Regions from separate parts of the Homo sapiens genome. Here region 2 is linked to region 1. The links are contacts of gene promoters, found by promoter capture Hi-C in blood cells and fetal thymus (Javierre and others, 2016). All regions are on one chromosome and are shown on one strand. Each heading gives the region's core, a stretch centred on a gene start or on the middle of the fragment in contact. The rest is flanking DNA. Distances are from core to core; before and after follow the strand shown. Region 1 holds the start of FOXM1 (forkhead box M1). Region 2 overlaps RAD51AP1 (RAD51 associated protein 1).

The links. The method cuts DNA at HindIII sites, captures the fragments that hold promoters and counts their contacts. A CHiCAGO score of 5 or more calls a contact.
Region 2: a contact is called between a fragment that was not itself captured here and the fragment with the promoter of FOXM1 in region 1, in 1 of 17 cell types (neutrophils). The highest score is 5.1, in neutrophils.

The regions. Positions count from the first base shown.
Region 1 is chr12:2,874,867-2,879,155 of GRCh38, forward strand. It overlaps FOXM1 (forkhead box M1), which reads right to left and starts at 2,308. Exons shown (of 9, transcript NM_021953.4): 1 at 2,054-2,308. It overlaps RHNO1 (RAD9-HUS1-RAD1 interacting nuclear orphan 1), which reads left to right and starts at 2,357. Exons shown (of 3, transcript NM_001252499.3): 1 at 2,357-2,416. RefSeq lists silencers at 2,064-2,133, 2,174-2,613 and an enhancer at 4,197-4,289. The HindIII fragment of the contact is 3,757 bases long and covers 1-3,675 here.
Region 2 is chr12:4,541,100-4,545,631 of GRCh38, forward strand. RAD51AP1 (RAD51 associated protein 1) reads left to right here. Exons shown (of 9, transcript NM_006479.5): 2 at 785-834; 3 at 2,664-2,805. Among named protein-coding and RNA genes, the nearest start is that of RAD51AP1, 4.5 kb to the left of the region's middle. The HindIII fragment of the contact is 4,691 bases long and covers 843-4,532 here.

The sequences.
Region 1 (4,289 bases), core at 1,058-3,557:
ATAGATCACTTGCAATGACTGTATGGACAGAAATGGAAGATGCTAGAATAGGAAAGCATATGGTAATTAGGAGTCCTGATGAAACTCTGATCCCATAATCCATTCAAGACAAAGGATTTTAATTTTTTTTTTTTTTTTTTTTTTGAGACAGAGTCTCACTTTGTCACCCAGGCTGGAGTGCAGTGGCACGATCTCAGTTCACTGCAACCTCTGCCTCCTGGGTTTAAGCGAGTCCCACGTCTCAGCCTCCTGAGTAGCTGGGATTACAGGTGCCCACCACCACGCCCGGCTAGTTTTTGTATTTTTAGTAGAGACAGGGTTTCACCATGTTGCTCAGGCTGGTCTCAAACTCCTGACCTCAGGTCATCTGCCCGCCTCGGCCTCCCAAAGTGCTGGGATTACAGGCGTGAGCCACCGCGTCTGGCCAAGCCTTTTGATTTTTATATTACTTTGTAAATAGGACCAGTGCACACAGAATCAGGGAAGAAAGGCAGATTGTACTATTGCCACACTACTGGAAAAATCATCTCCCAGTTTACAAAACCTCACATAAAATGGAAACCTCTACTGAAGGCCCATGTAAAGTTGTGCAGCTTGTGCACTGAACAACTCTAGAGGGTGACATTTATTTCACAGGCTATTATACTTGCTCTAATTTAAAAAGCATGTTTTCTTTTACAATTTGTATTGTATTTATACAGTGGCATTTTAGTACTTGCATGTGGTTATATATATTTTAACTAAGCATGCCACTTTATTAATTTCTTTTCCAGAAATAAGACTATAACCCCTGTCTTCTTAGTACCACAATGAGCTATCATCATTACACTAAGGTGGTTCTGAAATGCTAACAGTGTAGTCTTTTTTTTTTAAGTCTTTTGTTGATTTTTTTTAATTTTTTTTTTTTTTTTGAGACGGAGCTTCGCTCTTGTCACCCAGGCTGGAGTGCAATGGCGCAATCTCAGCTCACTGCAACCTCGGCCTCCCGGGTTCAAGCGATTCTCCTGCCTCAGCCTCCCGAGTAGCTGCAATTACAGGCATGCACCACCATGCCCAGCTAATTTTTTTTTTTTTTTTTTAGTAGAAACAGGGTTTCACCATGTTTGCCAGGCTGGTCTTGAACTCCTCAGGTGATCCACCCGCCTCGGCCTCCCAAAGTGCTGGGATTACAGGCGTGAGCCACTGCGCCCGGCCTTTTGTTGATTTTAATAGATACATGGAATATTCTACCATTAAGCAAAATTGTGTAATTCTATTTCACGGAACTTTGGAAGACAGAGGAATTGGCTGTCTCTTTTTTAGGACACTTATTCTCTCCCTGAAAAGCAACTGCACTTTTTTGACATTTGTCATCTGCATAGAGTTCACAGGCCCTCCACACCTCTACCTTCAAATCTCAGTTTTACTTTCACCTCCGATCTTTCCAGGCTTCCCTCTCTCCCCGCATCAATCAGTAGATATTATTCCTCTTTTTCCACAGGATATCTAAGTCTTAATTTTCTCTTCTACTTCCTGACCAGCCCGTTATTATTATTGCCAACACTTTCTTGCCCGGGAAACTTCCAGAGTGGCTCCTCCGACCCATCCCCATCCTGAGCGGGGAAATCTTGCTACATTCTCAAGAACCAGGAAAAGGGCCCTGCAAAAGGGTAAGTAAGATGGAGGCGGTGTTGCCTAGTGGTGAGACAGCCTGGGAGCAGGGGAGTGTGTATGCAGGTTGGTCTTTGACTCAATGTAGTACAATCTCAGTCTTCATCTCAGCCACAGTCGGCCTAAGAAGGTAGGCCACCCCAGCCCTCCCGAGGCCGCGGGCAGGGTGCGGAGGTCAGACTTCCAGGGAAGGCCAAGGGGCGCTTTAAGCAGTGAGAAGGCCACGGCCAGGAGGTGGACGCAGAAAAAACTTGCACCCTGGCTCAGATTCTTCCCGTGTGACCCAAATCTCCACTCGTGGCCCGTGCCCTGCTGCTAGACGCCCTGACCTCCGCGCCCGGAGGCCTTGCTCCCCGCCTGTGCCCAGGCCAGGCCTGGGACTCCATTGCTGCATCCCGCTCACCTCCAGACTGCAGTCGCCGCCGCCGTTAGGCCGTAGCTCCGAAGGCGGGCTCCGGGCTCCTCCAACCTGGGGGCCGAGCCAGGGCCCCGGACGGGGGCTCGCGCCGGACCGGCCGGGTCCCCGGCGGTGCGGGCGGGGTGGGAACCCCGGGGGATCCCGGGAGGGGAGGGGGTCCCGGGCCGGGGCCGGGGGTGGGGTCTGGCACCGGAGCTTTCAGTTTGTTCCGCTGTTTGAAATTGGCGCCGGCGGAGCGTTAAGGTCACGTGACGGAACGTCGCCAATCGGCGCCGGCCTTGTCTCGGCATTCCGGGCTCGAAGGCTGTGCGGTCTGCCAGGAGCTGCGGCCCCGTCCGGCCCGGGCTGGTAAGGCGGACCGCAGGCCGGCTTGTGGGGGAAGAAGTGGCCGTGGGGCCGGGGAGGGGCCGGAGGGGTCCCCGCCGCGTGGGTGGGCGAGCCGAGGGAGAGTTTGGGGACGCGCGGAAGCGGCGTGACAGGCCCGGGTCCCTGGGCCCGCTTTTCCTGCCGCGCTGGTCACGCCAGGCGACACGCCCCCGCTTCCCCTCAGGCTCCTCTGCTCCCCTTTTCAAAGCTCGGCTTTAGTTGATTTCCTCACTGGGGGAAATCGTACCCCATTTTCCCACAGTGAACGATCGTCTGCTCCCCCCGATTAGACTAAGTTCCTTTGAGGGCTGCGTATTATCTCCGCTTTCTTCCATCTTGAAAAAAAATGTCGGCACCATGAACCCTACCTCAGCGCGAAACCTGTCTTTTGCCCCTCCCGAAGCCAAGCCTTCGGATATAATAGACCGTAGTGCTTTATTTATTGACTTAGTCAACCAGTCTAGTTGAGCAACTGCTGTGCGCCAGGCACCGCTAGGCCCTGAAGATACAATGGCAGACAAGGTTCTTTCCTTCCCCTGGGCTCACAGCCCAATCCTGGAAGAGGGGCACAGACATTTTAATCAAATAAACAAATGTGGGCTGGGCATAGTGGCTCACGCCTGTAATCCCAGCACTTTAGGAGGCCGAGGCGGGTGGATCACTTGAGGTCACGAGTTCGAGACCAGCCTGGCAACATAGCGAAACCGCTTCTCTACTAAAAATTAGCCGGGCGTGGTGGTGCGTGCCTGTAGTCCCAGCTACTCTGGAGGCTGAGGTGGAAGGATCACCTGAGGCCGAGAGGTGGAGGCTATGGTAAGCCATGATCACACCACTGCACTCCAGCCTGGGCGACAGAGGGAGACACCGTCTCCAAAACAAACAAATGTTGAATTATTGCTGTAAATTGAAACATTAGAGGTTAATGATACTTTGAGTATTTACAATAACGAGATCTTGAGAGGTAGGACAGGAAAGGCTTTTGTAATGAGAGCTTGGTGTGAGATCTGATGCCTTTTACAAAGAAAGGAGGGAACTCCTCTAAGCAGAGGGAATCAGGCGTGCAAAGGCTGGATGGCAGGAGGAAGCACAGTGAGTACAAAGGCTGAGAAATATCTGAGGGGTTTGAGCTAATCGACCTGAATGGAGTGTGGTGTGAGTTGAAGCTGGAGCCGGAGGAAGCAGAGCCTTAGCCATACCGAGAAGTTTTGTGCTTATCCAAGAATTAAAGGAAACCAGTCATAAGCTTTAAGCAGAAGTGAATCCAGGTCAGATTTGCATTTTAAAAGGTCCCTCTATAGCGGGGATTGCTAGAGTGGATTAGGGCAGAACAGTTGGATGTTGCAATACTCCAGGCAAGAACTGCTGGAGCTTGAAAAAGGGTGGCAGGGAGAGAGAGAGAGGAAGAGAAAGAAGGAGACAGAGAGAGTAAAAAAGGGGCATTAAGAAAACATGTTTAAGAGGTAAAGTTGACAGGGCTTGATGGTGGGTTGGATGGGAGGTAGAAGTGTCAAGATTTTCAGCTGCATAACTGAAGGAATAATGACACTATTCCCTGACCAAGGGCCCTGGAAGATAATCACTTTGGCCAAGGGACGGGCGGGGGGTTGTCAGGGGAATGATCGTGAATTCAGTTTTTGTTTTTTTACTACAAAGCAATGCTCAGAATGAGTTTTTTTTTTAATTATATATTTATTTTTATTTATCTTTTTATTTTTTAGAGACAGGGTCTTGCTCTGTCCCCCAGGCTGAAGTCCAGTGGCATGACCTTGGCTCACTACAACCTCAACCTCCTGGGCTCAGGTGATCCTCCCACCTCAGCCTCCTGAATGGCTGGGACCCCCTACAGGCACATGCC
Region 2 (4,532 bases), core at 1,938-4,437, 1.7 Mb after region 1:
CATCCCAAATTTGAAATGCTCCAAAATTTGAAACTTTTGCAGTACCTACATGGCACTCAAAGGAAATGTTCATTGGAGCACTTCAGATTTTAGATTTTCAGATTTGGGATGCTCAGCTGGTAAGTATATAATGCAGATATTCCAAAATCTGAAAAAATCCAAAATTCAAAACATTTCTGGTTCCAAGCATTTCAGATAAGGGATACTCATCTCAGGTGGTAGGAACAAGGTCACTCACCATTTTTAAGTGTCCGTTGCATAAAAATGTTATTTGGTATGGTGGAGAGATTGAAAAGAAAGTAGCTTTTAGTGTCAAGAAATTTATAATCTAGTAAGGAAGATAGAATGCACACACAAAACAGAAGAACACGTACAACGGGAACTTACAAATGCCCAACAGCAATTAAACAGTATAGCAATTATAAATGTTAATTATGTAGATTATTCTTTGTAAGTTACCTGAATTTTTTTCCTTTATCATATAATTGAAAAGCCAACAATACCCAGGTATATCAGGTATAGTTGTAACTATTTTAGCTAATGATAAATCCCCGCGGTAAAATGCAAATCATGTTTTAGAGTTAAATATTCTTACTTGAACCCAAACACATTTTCATTTATTGAAACACATTTCATTTAACACATTTTTATTTATTTCGTTTATTCATTATTTATTAATAAATGAATAATATTAAATAAATAAATAATATTCATTAATAGCCTTAAGTAATAGTGGTGAGAAATTGACATTTGTGTTAATGAAAAAATTCTGTTTTGGTCATAGACATAAGAAACCAGTCAATTACTCACAGTTTGACCACTCTGACAGTGATGGTAAGTAAAGCTTCTTATTTTTGTTCTAAAGATTTGGAAACTCATTTCCTCGGAATTTATATGACATATATAGCTCAAACACTGACTAAATTGCCCAAATGCATATGAGGTAGGTCTGGAAAGATAGTTTTCTAATCATTTGGGATAATTATGCTGATAATTATACTGATAAAAATTATGTTAGTAGGTGATAAATGAACAGGCCAGGTGAAAAGTCTCTTTAGATCTAAACTACTCTAAAGTCCATAGTTGCAACATAGAGGTTTGTCTCCTATTCCATCCCTGAAGAAGGAAAACACTGTCTTTTTGAGATACAAAGATGTTACAGCATATTATATAAAATCCCTATTAATTGTACTATAAAACAAGACCTTGAAGAAAGGTTAGGCTTATGTTATGCCTTTTAAGCATTAGTCATATGTTTACTTGACTCTGCTATGATTGAAAAGTTTGAGGAACATTGCATTAGATTATGTTATATGTTGAAGTGGATTTAATATTTCTTTCTTAGACCACTAGAGTTTTCTGTAAGTCAAATATTTAGTAAGTCTTCGGTTTGAAGGAATCTGTTTTTGCCTTGAGCACAGCCTTAACTGTATCTACCACTTGGGAAAAAGAGTGTAGAGTATAACATCTAGCTTTTTTTTTTTTTTTGTCATCAGTCTGTCATCAGATACTTATAAATTGCCAGGTGTGTAGTAGTAGGTGGGGGGAGTCCTAAGTTATCTTATTTTTACATGGGGAAGCATATAAGAGACAACAAGTATTAGTGCTTGCTGAGTATGTGATGAAGACTGCATAGACCCTGAAAGTATGCATATATGTGTTGTATACATGTGGAAAAGCCACAGCAGTAGTTTTACGTTGACAGTCAAGAGTAGAACTACAACAGTTCAGAGGATTGGTAAGACAGAAAAACCTGTGAGAAACAGTAATGGACTGGAAAAGAACATCCTTTTGCAAGAAAATAAGAAGTTACTTTGGTAGGATCTTAGGAAGATCATTATGGTAATGGAAAGAGAAAATACTACTATTGTAAAAATCCTCAAATAGGAGCTACTTTCTCTTCCCCCCATAATGCTTATTTCCTCTAGCATGGTTAATGTACTAGGAATAGGTAATGGGCTTTTTTTTCTCTTTTTTTTGAGACGGAGTCTCACTCTTGCACCTAGGCTAGAGTGCAACAGCGCGATCTTGGCTCACTGCAACCTCTGCCTCCCAGGTTCAAGCGATTCTCCCACCTCACCTCCTGAGTAGCTGGGATTATAGGTGTCCGCCACCATGCCTGGCTAATTTTTGTATTTTTTAGTAGAGACAGGGTTTCACCACTTTGGCCAGGCTGGTCTTGAACTCGTGACTTCAGGTGATCTGCCCGCCTTGGCCTCCCAAAGTGCTGGGATTACAAGTGTGAGCCACTGTGCCTGGCCCAAGTAATGGGCTTTGAAAAAAGATATTTGGCTACATTGTGAAGTTCCCATAAAAATAATTTATTTCCACTTTTCAATGTGATTAAATTCTACCAATTTTTCTAATGGTTTTACAGGTTTTTAATCATTTTTTCTTTGACACTTATATGCTGTCTTAATTGCTTTTGCAGTTTTTAGTGAATTGGTTTTTGATAGACTGATATTTTTAAATATAAAGGGCACAAAAACAAAAGTCGAAATAGATAAATGAGAGTAAAGATAAACAAAATACTAACAATGATTTTTAAATTGTGGAAATTAAACAATTTGCCTAGCCTATAAAAACTTGAACACACATGGTAATGATTTTCATTTATGAAGAAAATAATATTTTTCTTTTGGTTTTAATTCACACATGAATAGATGATTTTGTTTCTGCAACTGTACCTTTAAACAAGAAATCCAGAACAGCACCAAAGGAGTTAAAACAAGATAAACCAAAACCTAACTTGAACAATCTCCGGAAAGAAGAAATCCCAGTACAAGAGAAAACCCCTAAAAAAAGGTGAGAGGTAAGACATGCAGTAAATATATGACATTAGATGTGTTAATTTTAAAGAGACACAGATTCGAACCCTTGATTTAAATTAGAACTTGGGCAGAGTCATAGGTCTTATTTTACTAGGTGCAGTCAGAAAACAGGACGTACTATTTTTTTCTGGCTTTCTGACTTAAAGAAATTCACAAACATTCAAGGAAGTATCATTAAATATTAAGACAATAATGATTGTAGAATTCAGAAGTTATGACTGGTTTTGACAGGACCCAGCACTTATCTCTGAATTCCTCAAATCATACGAGACTACTTTGTTAAAAATGACATTAGATGACTTAAGATGATTAAGACACAAGATGACTTAATATGAGGACAGTTTTTAAAATATAAAACCATGTATTTTCTTGCAGAAAAAGATGTCTTCTCCCCATGTTGTTAAGATTTATCCAGCAGTGAGAAGTTCCCATAGTTTCTAGACTAACCGTGGAATTCCATTAGATAGTATCAAGAGGCAGAAAGGAGTGAAGGAAGTCCTTAGAGACCCAAAACTTGCAGTATGGAGAAGAGATGGGCGGAAGGGGAATATTAACAAATGGAACATGGCATATATAATGTTTTACTGCCACAAGTTTCTCTATGAAAAGTGAGTTAGCCTGGAGAAACTTACCTCATGTCATGCTCTTTTTTGCTTTTCTTTTTTTTGGTTTTTGTTTGTGAGTTTCTTGTATTACATTTTAAATATATAGAAAAAGGAACCCACACGTGGGAGAAAATATTTGTAAATCAGATAACTGATAAGGGACTGTATCCAGAGTATACACAGAACTCGTAAAACTCAACAGTAAAAAGACTAACAACACAATTTAAAATGTGCAAAAGATTTCAATAGACTTTCTCCAGAGAAGATAAACAAATAACCAATAAACACATGAAAAGATGCTCAATATCATTAGCTGTGAGGGCAATGCAAATCAAAATCAGAATGAGATAATACTTCACACCCACTAGATGACTTAATACAAAAGACAAGGAATGTGGAGAAATTTGAACCCTCATATATTGCTGGTGGGAAAGTAAAATGGTGCAGCTAAATTGGAAAATGGTTTAGCAGTTCCTCAAAATGTTAAACAGAGTTATTACATGACCCAGCCTATGTATGTATCCAAGAGAAATGAAAACATATGCCCACACAAAAACCCATACATGAATGTTCACAGCAACATTATTCATAATAGCTAAAAAAAAATGGAGGCAATCTAAATGTCTATCTGCTAATGAATGGATAAGTAAAATGTGGTTTCCACAAAATGGAATATTTTTCAGCCATAGAAAGAAATGACAACTGATAACTGATATATACTGCAATATGGATGAACCTTGGAAACATCATTCTGAGTGAAAGAAGCCAGATATACAGGTCACATATTACATGATTTCATTTGCATGAAATGTCCAGAATAGGCAAATCCATAGAAACGGAAAGCAGATTAATGGTTGCTAGGAGGGGAGAGGGGTAAACAGGAAGTGAATGCTAATGGGTATGGGGTTTCTTTTTGGGGTAATAAAGATGTTCTGAAATTAGGTAGTGTTGGTGGTTTTACAGCTCTGTGAATGTACTAAAAACTGCTGAATTGTTTACTTTAAAAGGTAAACTTTATGATATGTGAATTATATCTTAAGAAAACTGTTATTCTAAAAAAATAAATTCTTTAAGGTACATCTCAGTGCTTCTTCCT